Linked DNA regions of Homo sapiens: regions 1, 2 and 3 are each linked to region 4. Evidence: promoter capture Hi-C in 16 types of primary human blood cells and fetal thymus (Javierre and others, 2016). All regions are on one chromosome and are shown on one strand. Each heading gives the region's core, a stretch centred on a gene start or on the middle of the fragment in contact. The rest is flanking DNA. Distances are from core to core; before and after follow the strand shown.

What was found. The method cuts DNA at HindIII sites, captures the fragments that hold promoters and counts their contacts. A CHiCAGO score of 5 or more calls a contact.
Region 1: a contact is called between a fragment that was not itself captured here and the fragment with the promoter of GUCY2C in region 4, in 1 of 17 cell types (monocytes). The highest score is 5.2, in monocytes.
Region 2: a contact is called between a fragment that was not itself captured here and the fragment with the promoter of GUCY2C in region 4, in 1 of 17 cell types (neutrophils). The highest score is 7.1, in neutrophils.
Region 3: a contact is called between a fragment that was not itself captured here and the fragment with the promoter of GUCY2C in region 4, in 6 of 17 cell types (M0 macrophages, total B cells, neutrophils and 3 more). The highest score is 6.8, in M0 macrophages.

Annotation. Positions count from the first base shown.
Region 1 is chr12:14,252,527-14,255,610 of GRCh38, reverse strand. It overlaps the pseudogene GNAI2P1. Among named protein-coding and RNA genes, the nearest start is that of ATF7IP, 110 kb to the left of the region's middle. The HindIII fragment of the contact is 4,306 bases long and covers 1-3,084 here.
Region 2 is chr12:15,001,066-15,004,364 of GRCh38, reverse strand. LINC01489 (long intergenic non-protein coding RNA 1489) reads right to left here and starts at 2,532. Exons shown (of 4, transcript NR_120466.1): 1 at 2,459-2,532; 2 at 1,330-1,430. The HindIII fragment of the contact is 3,304 bases long and covers 122-3,299 here.
Region 3 is chr12:14,221,220-14,224,237 of GRCh38, reverse strand. No RefSeq gene overlaps it. Among named protein-coding and RNA genes, the nearest start is that of ATF7IP, 140 kb to the left of the region's middle. RefSeq lists enhancers at 2,871-3,018, 3,012-3,018. The HindIII fragment of the contact is 2,011 bases long and covers 665-2,675 here.
Region 4 is chr12:14,695,225-14,698,282 of GRCh38, reverse strand. GUCY2C (guanylate cyclase 2C) reads left to right here and starts at 1,684. Exons shown (of 27, transcript NM_004963.4): 1 at 1,684-2,051. The coding sequence starts at 1,835. The region is part of intron 4 of GUCY2C-AS1 (GUCY2C antisense RNA 1); the gene reads right to left. The HindIII fragment of the contact is 11,701 bases long and covers 1-3,058 here.

The DNA.
Region 1 (3,084 bases), core at 561-3,060, 440 kb after region 4:
TTTTACGATTCAGTCTGTTTTCTTACTCTTGTGAACTTTCAGGAACAACTGATTTATTTCAGGGTTCCTCTTTACATAATGAGAGCTACTGAGTAGAATAGAATCTTCACAGCTTCTGGGGGGTACCAGAAAGATGCCCAGAAAGGGGGTACCATGGCCATTACTGGCACCTCAGACAAGGGCAGGCTTCAAACAGGGAGGCCTGTGGCAACCCCTCCCCTATGTCTGAAGCTGAGGGGATGGGGGAGCTAAGAACAAAGGAAAGAAGAGAAAAGTGTCCAGGGAACAGGTGGGGACCATGGTCTTCTTGCCCCATCTTCCTCAGGGGTTGGGGGGTACAGAGTTGGTGGTGGCCCATCCTGCTAGGTCCCACTGCCCCTCAGAAGAGGCCCCAGTCCTTCAGGTTGTTCTTGATGATGACGTCGGTGATGGCATCAAACACGAACTACGTTCTTGGTATCGGTGGCGCATGTGAAGTGTGTGTAGATCTCCTTGGTGTCTTTGTGCTTATTCAGGTCCTCAGACTTACTCTGGTTGTAGCTGGCTGCCTCATCATACTTGTTGGACCCTGTGTACTCAGGGAAGCAGATGGTCAGGGGCTGTGTGTGATCTTCTCCTCCAACAGCTCCTTCTTGTTGAGGAAGTAGATGATGGACGTGTTTGTGAACCACTTGTTGCAGATGCTGTCAAACAGCTTTTATCCCCTAAGAAAAGACACACTAGTCTTATAATTCTTACCGTCTGTGTTTTCTCATCTGTAGTACTTGATTTTACTCTGAGATGGAATTCAACTTGGGTTTTGGTTTCTGAGTCTGGAGTCATGCACATGGTTTTCCCCCTTCCATCTTTATCAAAACTGTCCCTATCACCAGAGGGAAAGGATTTACCAATTCCTCCTTTAAAAGAGTATCCTGGCGGCCAGGCCTGGTGGATCATGCCTGTAATTCCAGCACTTTGGGAGGCCGAGGTGGGTGGATCACCCGAAGGTCAGGAGTTCGAGACCAGCCTGGCCAACATGGAGAAACCCTCATCTCTACTAAAAATACAAAAATTAGCCAGGGGTGGTGACGGGCGCCTGTAATCTCAGCTACTCGGGAGGCTGAGACAGGAGAATTGCTTGAACCCGGGAGGTAGAGGTTGCAGTGAGCTGAGATCATGCCATTGCACTCCAGCCTGGGCAACAAGATTGAAACTTCGTGTCACACACACACACACACACACACACACAACGGGCATGGTGGCTCACGCCTGTAATCCCAGCACTTTGAGAGGCCAAGGTGGGCCGATCATGAGGTCAGGAGATTGAGACCATCCTGGCTAACACAGTGAAACCTCACCTCTACTAAAAATACAAAAACTTAGCTGGGTGTGGTGGCATGCACCTGTAGTCCCAGCTACTAGGAGGCTGACGCAGGAGAATTGCTTGAACCCAAGAGGTGGAGGTTGCGGTGAGCCGAGATCGCGCCACTGCACTCCACACTCCAGCCTGGGTGACAGAGCGAGACTCTGTCCCAAAAAAAAAAAAAAAAAAAAAATGGATCCTAGCTGGGCGAGGTGGCTCACGCCTGTAATCCCAGCACTTTGGGAGGCTGAGGTGGGTGGATCGCTTGAGGTCAGGAGTTTGAGACCAGCCTGGCCAACATGGCAAAACCCCGTCTCTACTAAAAATATAAAAATTAGCTGGGCATGGTGGTGGGTGCCTGTAATCTGAGCTACTAGGGAGGGGATACAGGAGAATCGCTTGAACCCGGCAGGCAGAGGTTGCACTAAGCTGGGATCGTGCCACTGCAGTCCAGCCTGGGTGACAGAGCAAGACTCAGTCTCAAAAAAAAAAAAAAAGATTCTACTCCTGGCCAGGGACTCATCCAAGCAGAAGTCTAATGCCACAGAATTTCAAGTAGGCAATTTGCATCTCTGAAAACCTTCAGATGAGAGAGAGAGAGAGGGGCCACCAATTCACTGGATTTCAGCCCAACACAAGAGTAATGTCTTTGGGGCTTTTTTTTTTTTTGAGACAGGGTCTCACTCTGTCACTGATGCTAGCTAGAGTGCAGTGGCCTGATCCTGGCTCCCTGCAGCCTTGACTTCTGGGCTCAAGTGATCCTCTCACCTCAGCCTCCAGAGTAGCTGGGACTATAGGCATGCACCATCACACTTGGTTATTTTTTTCTATTTTTCTTTTTTTTTTTGAGACAGAGTCTCACTTTGTTGCCCAGGCTGGAGTGCAGTGGTGCAATCTCTGGTCACTGTAACCTCCACCTCCCTGGTTCAAGCGATTCTCCTGCCTCAGACTCCCTAGTAGCTGGGATTACAGGTGCCTACCACCAAGCCTGGCTAATTTTTGTATGTTTAGTAGAGATGGGCTTTCGCCATGTTGACCAGGCTGGTCTTGAACTCCTGACCTCAAATGATCCACCCGCCTGGGCCTCCCAAAGTGCTGGGATTACAGGCATGAGCCACCATGCCTGGCCTATTTATTTTTTTATTTTTTCACAGAGACAGGGTCTCTCTGTGTTGCTCTGGCTGCCCTCAAACTCCTGGCTTCAAGTGACTCCTACCTCTGCCTCCCAGTGAGGTGGGATCACAGGCATGAGCCACTGTGCCCTGCCTGGAGCATTTCTTCACCTAAGCAAATTAGCTGTTCTAAAAGCTGTGCTAGGTGTTGGAGGACATTTGAAGCACAGCTTTATTGTGTATTTATTGCAAGGTTTTGATTGACTCGTTGTGAAACTGGTAGGATTTCCCTAACTGACTACAAAATTCTGTGACTTTCACTTCTTTTTTTTTTTTTTTTTTTTTTTGGGATGGAGTTTCGCTCCTGTTGCCCAGGCTGGAGTGCAATGGCACGATCTCAGCTCACCACAACCTCCGCCTCTGGCGTTCAAGAGATTCTCCTGCCTCAGCCTCCCGAGTAGCTGGGATTACAGGCATGCGTCACCACACCCGGCTAATTTGTGTTTTTAGTAGAGACAGTTTCTCCATGTTGGCCAGGCTAGTCTCGAACTCCTAACCTCAGGTGATCTGCCCACCTCAGCCTCCCAAAGTGCTGGGATTACAGGCGTGAGCCACCACGCCCGGCTGACT
Region 2 (3,299 bases), core at 524-3,023, 310 kb before region 4:
GGGCAGACAGATGTTAGTGTTTAGGGGACAGGCTTTGGGCCTTGAATAGACTTTGATTGGAGGCACGGCTCTACTACCCGTTAGTCTACTTAATTACATTGAACAGTTAACTCCCTAAGCTTCAATTTCTCTTATTTATAAATTAGACTCTTTATGTTAGCTATTTTAGGTAACACTGTGATAAGAATTGCACATTGTTCACAAACATATAAATATTCTATCCATGTTTGCCAAATAAAGTACCCCCAAATTACATAATTTTAGAAATACAGTAAAGAAAGCCCTGTCTTCCACTGGAAAGCTACATACAGAGGAAATGTGAAACCTAAAGTTTCAAAGACTGAAGTGACATGAAAATTAAATAAAGGAGGAACTTTTGAATGATCAATAGCTTCAGAGCTGAACCTCTAAAGGACTTCTTTAAGAATCAATACTGATACCATAACATTGATCCAAAAAGATAAGAAACGGCATCCTATCTTTTTATGAAAATGGAAAAGTCATATAAATTTAAAAGAAGCTGTGAGAACCGTGGGAGATTAGACACAGTAAAAGACACAAATCGTATTTGTCCCTCATTAATGTAAAGCAGGGGAATTGCCCTGCAGGTTTCCATGTGAGAATATGTTATGCTTTATGGTGGAAGGAGGGTAAAAAAGTCAAAACAACCAGACTTTACCCCTAGATTTAACTAAGGACTAGCTCGACCACATTCTAGTTGTGGGGCATTTAATTATGAGCTCAAGACTGGTGATCAGTGCTCTTATTATAATACCTACTCCACAAGTGTGTGAAGAATCAAGTGCCTAGCATCCTGTCTTGCGCCTCGGAGGCACTCAATAGACAGGAGTTTAAGTCATTGCTGAGAGGAAGATAAATGAACTTATGACTTCTCTGCAGGTCAAGCAACTCACTATACCGATGGCTTCAACCTTCCCACTGCATCATTTCTTCATGTTTTGCAGATCATGAGAAAATGCTGTCATTAGCCAAGTCAGATTGTCTTCTGAACCTTAGGTCAACAACTCTGCCACAGAAAGCCTGCTATGGGCATAATTGTGAAATTAAAGAGAATTTCTGCAATCTCAGATGGCACTTTCTGTCCTCCTTCTGGTCCCACCCCAGGTGTTCTTAATGAACAATCAGCTGTCGGAAAGCTGCCCTAATTCTGCCCCACAGGAAAGAACAACTTCTTAAAGTGTGGTTCTCAAACTCCATGTGTCAGCATCCCCTCAGACGCCACAGGGACAAGCGAGTGGGCTGTCGAGATTGGAACATCCTGAAAACTGCTCAAAATATTCCACATGAAAAAACAAAGAAGTATTTTACCTGTGCGGGGATAGGATTGCAGACCCACAGGAAGTTTTTCTCCACTCTATTATCACAGAAAGGGATGCTCTGAGAATTCATGAACGATTGGGGTTTCTGTTCTGCATTTTTAAAAAGAGGGAGTTTGAAAGTAAGAGAACATTAATCCGATGGAAATGTGTTAAAAATTGATAAGTAAGACTGGAGCATTTGTATTTTGTGTAAATCTCTATTTGTTTTATGTGTTTAAATACCCACCAACAGAAAAACATTTTTAAATTAAAAGAAACCCCACTATCATTTTAAATTAAATTAAAAGAAGTCCTGCAAGTTTGTGAATTGTTAAGAGCTTTGAAATATAGAATTTGCAGAAACACACATAGCTGTAGGATAAAGAACATGATCCATCAGAGTCCGGGTCAGGAAACTAGAAAGCATATTATAACAGATGGAATGTATTATAAATTAATTATAATCAGTTATAAGGAATTGGCTAAGCTAAATAGAGAAGGTAGAATAAAGGGAAGAAATTGCGGTTCCGTCCCAGGTGTTCCTAATGAGCAATCAGCTGTCTGAAAGCTGCCCTAATCAGAGAAGATGCCCGGCAGAGCCATTGTCAGACTCGGACCAGATCTCTGAGGAGAGGGCACTGCCTGGCTGCTATGGGTAACTTTGCAGAAAAAGTGTAGAAAGAAGGTGGAGACTAGAACCAGACCAATTGCTGCTGCCAAGAGAGGGCGGTTGTTGCTGGCGGATGCCGCTGCCAGGAACAGGGACTTCTCCTTCCCTCCCTCCCTTTCTAGCCTTCCAGCAAGCATCCAGTGCCTCCCTCTCAGAGAAGCCTCACAGGCAGCCAAAACTCTATTTCCTATCATCCCAGCCCCAGTGCCATAAAGCTGAGTAAGGAAAGGTGGGTTTGAAGTAGAGAGACAATAGCTTCATAAACCAGCACACTGTCTTCTTAGGAAACCCTTCAAGTAAACTGAAGTAGATTAAAAAAAAAAATCACAGCAGATGCTTCAGCTGGTAACTGCAGTTTGCAAACAAAGAACCGCACTGCTGTAACCCGAGTGGGGAAGCCTCTGCTTATGCCATAGTGATCTTTGCAACTATCCATGCACACAAATAATTTTCTCATGTATTTACTCACCCAGGAAGTATTTACTGAGTTCCTTCTATTTCTAGGCATTTCCTAGGAAGTGGAGTGGGTATAACAGTGAACAACACAGGCAAATTCCCTGTCCTTGTGGAGGTGATGTTGTAACAGGATAGGCAGACAACAAGCATGCTAAAAATAGCCGGTAGTGCTAAGTGTAAAAAGACTGAAGATATGTGGGAACAAAGGGGTATCCAATCCACTTCCTTTTCCTAATGCAACAAACACATAACATTTTAATAAAAACAACTGATTATGCTAGCTCACATGGGCTAATATTTTACATTAACTTTCTTTCATAAGCCATCATTTCATCTGTCGGTGGTTCATACTAAGCAGCCTGGCTCACATCATATCTCTTAAAACAATAAGACCCAGAACCCTAAGATTCACCACTTCTGGTGAGAGCCAAAGTACATATACATGAGCTCCAGCCCTGCACACTGAGGTGGATGAGCTTCAGGACATTCTCTTTAAGACTGTTCTTGTGTCCCAGACATAGCATGTAGGGGTCTGAAATAATCCTCAAAGAGCTTTAATGATGAACTTTGCAAGAGAAGATATTTGGGAGAAGTAGAAAACCAGAGGACATGTTTCAGAGACTGGTCCTTCTTTTCAAACTTCAGGGGAAAATCACCTACTTGTATCTTAGCGTATAGTTGGTTGCCTGAATGAAATAATTTCAAATGATGGTTATTCTAATTCTGTCATATTTTTTACTTTAGGCAAAATAAATATTACAAATGTCTTGACTCCAATTTGTTTTGCTTCTTCAAGGCACCATAACTACTGAAATATTGAGGATATAAATCAAACCTGTTGTGTACATATTTCT
Region 3 (3,018 bases), core at 421-2,920, 470 kb after region 4:
TGGTGGCTCAAGCCTGTAATCCCAGCACTTTGGGAGGCCGAGGTCGGTGGGTCGCTTGATCTCAGGAGTTTGAGATCATCCTGGGCAACATGGTGAAACCCCATCTCTACAAAAAATCCAAAAATTAGCCAGAAATGGTGGCTCGTGCCTGTAATCCCAGCTACTTGGGGGGCTGAGGCGGCAGGATTGCTTGAGCCCAGGAGGCGGAGGTTGCAGTGAGTTGAGACTGTACCACTGCACTCCAGCCTGGGCAGGCAGAGTGGAAACCCTGTCTCAAAAAACAAAACAAAACCCAACTTTTTGTAGATATGAGGTCTATGTTGCCCAGACTTGTCTCAAACTCCTGGTCTCAAGTGATTCTCCTGCCTCAGCCTCCCAAAGTGCTGGGATTATAGAAGTGAGCCACTGTCTCTGGCCTGAATCACTGTTAAAGTCAGAAAACTAAATTTAACTAGATGAGGGTCTATAAATGTAATCCTGAGAATAGTTGTACCAAAACTAACCTCAGCAGATTTAAATGTTTGAATCAAAAGTCACTACACCAATTTCACAACAATTTCAAATAGCTCATTATTCTTATTTTATTCTTTAATTAAATATTTGAATTAACACACATTTGGTCTTTATCATTTTACATATATTTTCAAACAGAATCCTCAAAGCTTTAACTTTTAAGTGAAAGAAAATTAATTAATGGTACATGATTTTTATAAATGCTTCCCATACTAGTGTTAATAGTGTATGAAATACATAACATTAAACTAACTAGACAATTCAGTACTGTTGCGTTTAACCACTGTGTTATTAAGATAGAGGAAGGGCTGGGCGTGGTGGCTCACGCCTGTAATCCCAGCACTTTGGGAGGCCGAGGCGAGTGTATCATGAGGTCAGGAGATTGAGACTATCCTGGCTAACACGGTGAAACCCCGTCTCTACTAAAAATAAAAAAAAATTAGCCAGACGTGGTGGCGGGCACCTATAGTCCCAGCTAGTAGGGAGGCTGAGGCAGGAGAATGGCGTGAACCTGGGAGGCGGAGCTTGCAGTGAGCCGAGATCACGCCACTGCACTCCAGCTTGGGCGACAGAGCGACTCTGTCTCAAAAAAACAAAAAAACAAAAATATTTTGTGAAGACATACCAAGTATGGTGTCCAGACCCTACTTCAGTGAAGGAATTGTTTTCCCAACTACTGGGAGTGCTACGAGGGGAAAGCCTTCAGCTAGCAGTGTCTTCAGGGACTGCATCAGCTTCCTGTGTGACTAAGGTGGGGCACCCTTACCAGGACAGCCTACATCCAGTGATCAAGGTGGAGGTATAAAGGCCTGGCTGTTTTAGTCCACTGTGGGACAACTCTGCCAATTCAGCTTCCTTTTAAGAAAATTAAGCTAGGGTCAGGCGTGGTGGCTCACGCCTGTAATCCCAGCACTTTGGGAGGCCAAGGCGAGTGGATCACGAGGTCAGGAGATCGAGACCACACTAGCTAACACGTTTAAACCCCATCTCTACTAAAAATACAAAAAATTAGCTGGACATGGTGGCGGGCACCTGTAATCCCAGCTACTCGGGAGGCTGAGGCAGGAGAATGGCATGAACCTGGAAGGCGGAGCTTGCAGTGAGCTGAGATTGCGCCACTGCACTCCAGCCTGGGAGGCAGGGATACTGTCTCAAAAAAAAAAAAAAAAAAAAAGAAAATTCATCTGGGATTTTTTTTTCTTTTCTTTCTTGAGACAGAGTCTCGCTCTGTTGCCCAGGCTGAAGTGCAGCGGCGCAATCTTGGCTCACTTCAACCTTGGCCTCCTGGGTTCAAGCGATTCTGCTGCCTCAGCCTCCTGAGTAGCTGGGATTACAGGGGCCTGCCACTGTGCCCAGCTAATTTTTTTGTATTTTTAGTAGAGATGGGGTTTCACCATGTTGGCCAGGCTGGTCTTGAACTCCTGACCTCAAGTGATCTGCCCACCTCGGCCTTCCAAAGTGCTGGGATTACAGGCGTGAACCACCACGCCCTGCCCTTTTTTCTTTTTTCTTTTCTTTTATTTTTTTTGACGGAGTCTTGCTCTGTCACCCAGGCAGGAGTGCAGTAGTGCAATCTCGGCTGGCTGAAAGCTCCGCCTCCCGGGTTCATGCCATTCTCCTGCCTCAGCCTTCCGAGTAGCTGGGACTACAGACGCCCGCCACCACGCCCAGCTAACTTTTTGTATTTTTAGCAGAGACGGGGTTTCACCATGTTAGCCAGGATGGTCTTGATCTCCTGACCTTGTGATTGCCTGCCTTGGCCTCCCAAAGTGCTTGAGATTATAGCCTTCTGTTTTTTTTTGTTTTTTTTTTTTTTTTTTTTTTTGAGCCAAGATATGGCTGTGTTGCCCAGGCTGGAATGCAGTGGAATGAACCCGGCTCACTGCAACCTCCTGGGCTCAAGTGATCCTCCCACCTCAGCCTCCTGAGTAGCTAGGACTACAGGCACCTACCACCACTCCCAGCTATTTTTTTTTTTTTTGTATTTTTTGTAGAGATGGGGTTTTGCCATGTTGCCCACACTGGTCTTGAACTCCTTGTCTCAATCGATCTGCCTTCCTTGGTGTGAGTCACTGTACCAGGCTGGGATTCTTTTTTTTTTTTTATGGCAGCAAGATTTAGTAAAGCGAAAGGGAAAGTAAAGGGAACGCAAAAGTAAAGCTTCCATGTGGTGGAAGGGGACCCAGAAGGATTGTGTTTTTTGGCTTGGGTGTCTTATGCTTATATCCCCTTATGACTCCTCCCCTTTTCTTTTTCTGTCCTATAGGATTGGCTAATTTTCTATCCACTTGTGGGTTGGCAGACCTGATTGGTTAAAAACATCAGGCTGCAGCTAGAGCTTGAACTCCCTATATGATTGGTTGAAGTTTCAATCCCTTAGTTTGTAGCTGTGACTCATTTTGGCTTAGGGGAAAGTCCCCTTTGATTGGTTGAAGTTTCAATCCCTTTAGCTTGCAGCTATGACTAATTTTGGCTTAGGGGAAAATCCCCTTTGATTGGTTGAAG
Region 4 (3,058 bases), core at 435-2,934:
AGCTTGCAGTGAGCCGAGATTGCGCCACTGCACTCCAGCCTGGGCGACAGAGCAAGACTCCATCTCAAAAAAAAAATTAAATAAAAATTAAAAAAATATTAAAATTAAAAAATAAAAATAGAAAATAAACATAATTATTTAATGTTTGCCTTCTCCCATTAGAATGCATGTTCCATGAGGACATTAATGTATCTATGTTGTTCATGGCTATATCTTCAGTGCCTTGCCAATGCTCAACACATAGTCAAATCTTAATAAGTAGTTGCTGCTTAACCTACAGAATGGGAGAAAACTTTTGCAATCTATCCATCTGGCAAAGGGCTAATATTCAGAATCTACAAAGAACTTAATCAAATTTACAAGAAGAAAACAAATAACCCCATCAAGAAGTGGGCAAAGGATATGAACAGACAATTCTCAAAAGAAGACATTTACGCAGCCAAGAAACATGAAAAAAAGCTCATCATCACTGGTCATTAGAGAAACGCAAATCAAAATCACAATGAGATACCATCTCATGCCAGTTAGAATGGCAATCATTAAAAAAGTCAGGAAACAACAGATGCTGGAGAGGATGTGGAGAAATAGAAACGCTTCTACCCTGTTGGTGGGAGTGTAAATTAGTCCAACTATTGTGAAAGACAGTGTGGCAATTCCTCAAGGATCTAAAACCAGAAATACCATTTGACCCAGCAATCCTATCACTGGGTATATACCCAAAGGATTATAAATCACTCTACTATAAAGACACATGCACACATATGTTTATTGCAGCACTGTTCACAATAGTAAAGACTTGGAACCAACCCAAATGCCCATCAATAATAGACTGGATAAAGAAAATGTGGCACATATACACCATAGAATACTATGCAGCCATAAAAAGGATGAGTGCATGTCCTTTGCAGGGACATGGATGAAGCTGGAAACCATCATTCTCAGCAAACTAACACAAGAACAGAAAACCAAATACCGCATGTTCTCACTTGTAAGTGGGAGTTGAACAATGAGAACACATGGACACAGGGAGGGGAAAATCATACACCAGGGCCTGTTGGGGGGTGGGGGGCTAGGGGAGGGATAGCATTAGGAGAAATGCCTAACGTAGATGGCGGGTTGATGGGTGCAGCAAACCACCATGGCATGTGCATACCTACGTAACAAACCTGCACGTTCTGCACATGTATCCCAGAACTTAAAGTATATATATATATACACTTTATATATATATATATATATATATATATATATACACTTTATATATATATATATATATATATATATATACACTTTATATATATATATATATATATATATATACACTTTATATATATATATATATATACTTTATATATATATATAAAGTTAAGGATTTCGTTTCAATGTGCAGCTAAAACTTAAGCACTAATAGTCAATTGTAGCTGTGTTTTCCTAAAGCCCTTTGACCTTTATTTTCCACTTCACAAAGTTTGTTACATATATGATGTATTGCCCTCTTTCTCTTTTCCCTCTTCCCAGTGATGCATCACAAATTATTGCATTTTTATTGGGTGAGGCCCAGCTAATCTCTCTGTTTATAGCTCTGACCTTTCTGGGTGCAAACACAAAGTGAACTTTGGTTTATCTCCTGCCATAACGTAGCTGCTAATTACTGGCAAGCAGGCTGTGTTCCACGGCCCATGTGACCAGTTGGGCATGACCAGAGAGAAGCGTGGGGAAGAGTGGGCTGAGGGACTCCACTAGAGGCTGTCCATCTGGATTCCCTGCCTCCCTAGGAGCCCAACAGAGCAAAGCAAGTGGGCACAAGGAGTATGGTTCTAACGTGATTGGGGTCATGAAGACGTTGCTGTTGGACTTGGCTTTGTGGTCACTGCTCTTCCAGCCCGGGTGGCTGTCCTTTAGTTCCCAGGTGAGTCAGAACTGCCACAATGGCAGCTATGAAATCAGCGTCCTGATGATGGGCAACTCAGCCTTTGCAGAGCCCCTGAAAAACTTGGAAGATGCGGTGAATGAGGGGCTGGAAATAGTGAGAGGACGTCTGCAAAATGCTGGTAAGAAAATGTTAATAGAATCTTCCTCCACTCTGTTACTACCTCTGGGGACAAAATGTTGCTAAGCAAAGACCTTGTGTTCTTTGATCACACAACTTTCTCTAAGGACTGTCCCTAAACCCCTTTCTATTTCATGACAGTAGCTCCTTAGAGAGAAGAATTTGAACCCTATTATGCTGTGCTCACTCACACTTCACCTTGCTCTGGGACTAGCCCTGACTCAGGAAATGTAAAGTGTTCACGGCAGTGAAACGTCCCAGTTAAAACTGGGTTTAGGCCAGATGTGGTGGCTCACGTCTGTAATCTCAGCAATTTAGGAGGCCAAGGAAGGAGGGACACTGAGCCCGGGAGTTCAAGACCAGCCTGGGCAACATAGCAAGACTCCATCTCTTCAAAAAGAAAATAAATAAAAATAAACTCAGTTTATTGCCCGGTTCCAGGAAGGCATTATGTTTCCTTCTGTACTCAGAGGTAAGATTTGGTCTAGACCTAAGATTTCACAGGGATACTAATCAAGAAGATGAATTAAGACAGTCAATTTCACATAGACACCAAATCTTTCTCTGGGCCTTTTATCCAGAGAAAGACATTTGTCTCTGGCCTGTTCACTCTTTTTTTTTTTTTTTTTTTTGAGATGGAGTCTCACTCTGTCACCCAGGCTGGAGTGCAGTGGCACGATCTCGGCTCACTGCAAGCTCTGCCTCCCAGGTTCACGCCATTCTCCTGCCTCAGCCCCCCGAGTAGCTGGGACTACAGGTGCCCACCACCATGCCTGGCTAATTTTTTGTATTTTTAGTAGAGAGGGGGTGGTCTGTTCACTCTTTACATTTCCTGTGGCTGTGATTACTAGACATAGTTAATATAAAACATTTGCAATCAAATTCATTGTTGCAGTTCTTCATTGTACCTTTTAGTTATAAAAATAAATTTTATAACATTACATGAAATGTGTAAAATAAAGGGGGAAAAAAAGCAGCCATGATTCCCAGCCACCTGGATGTTTCCAG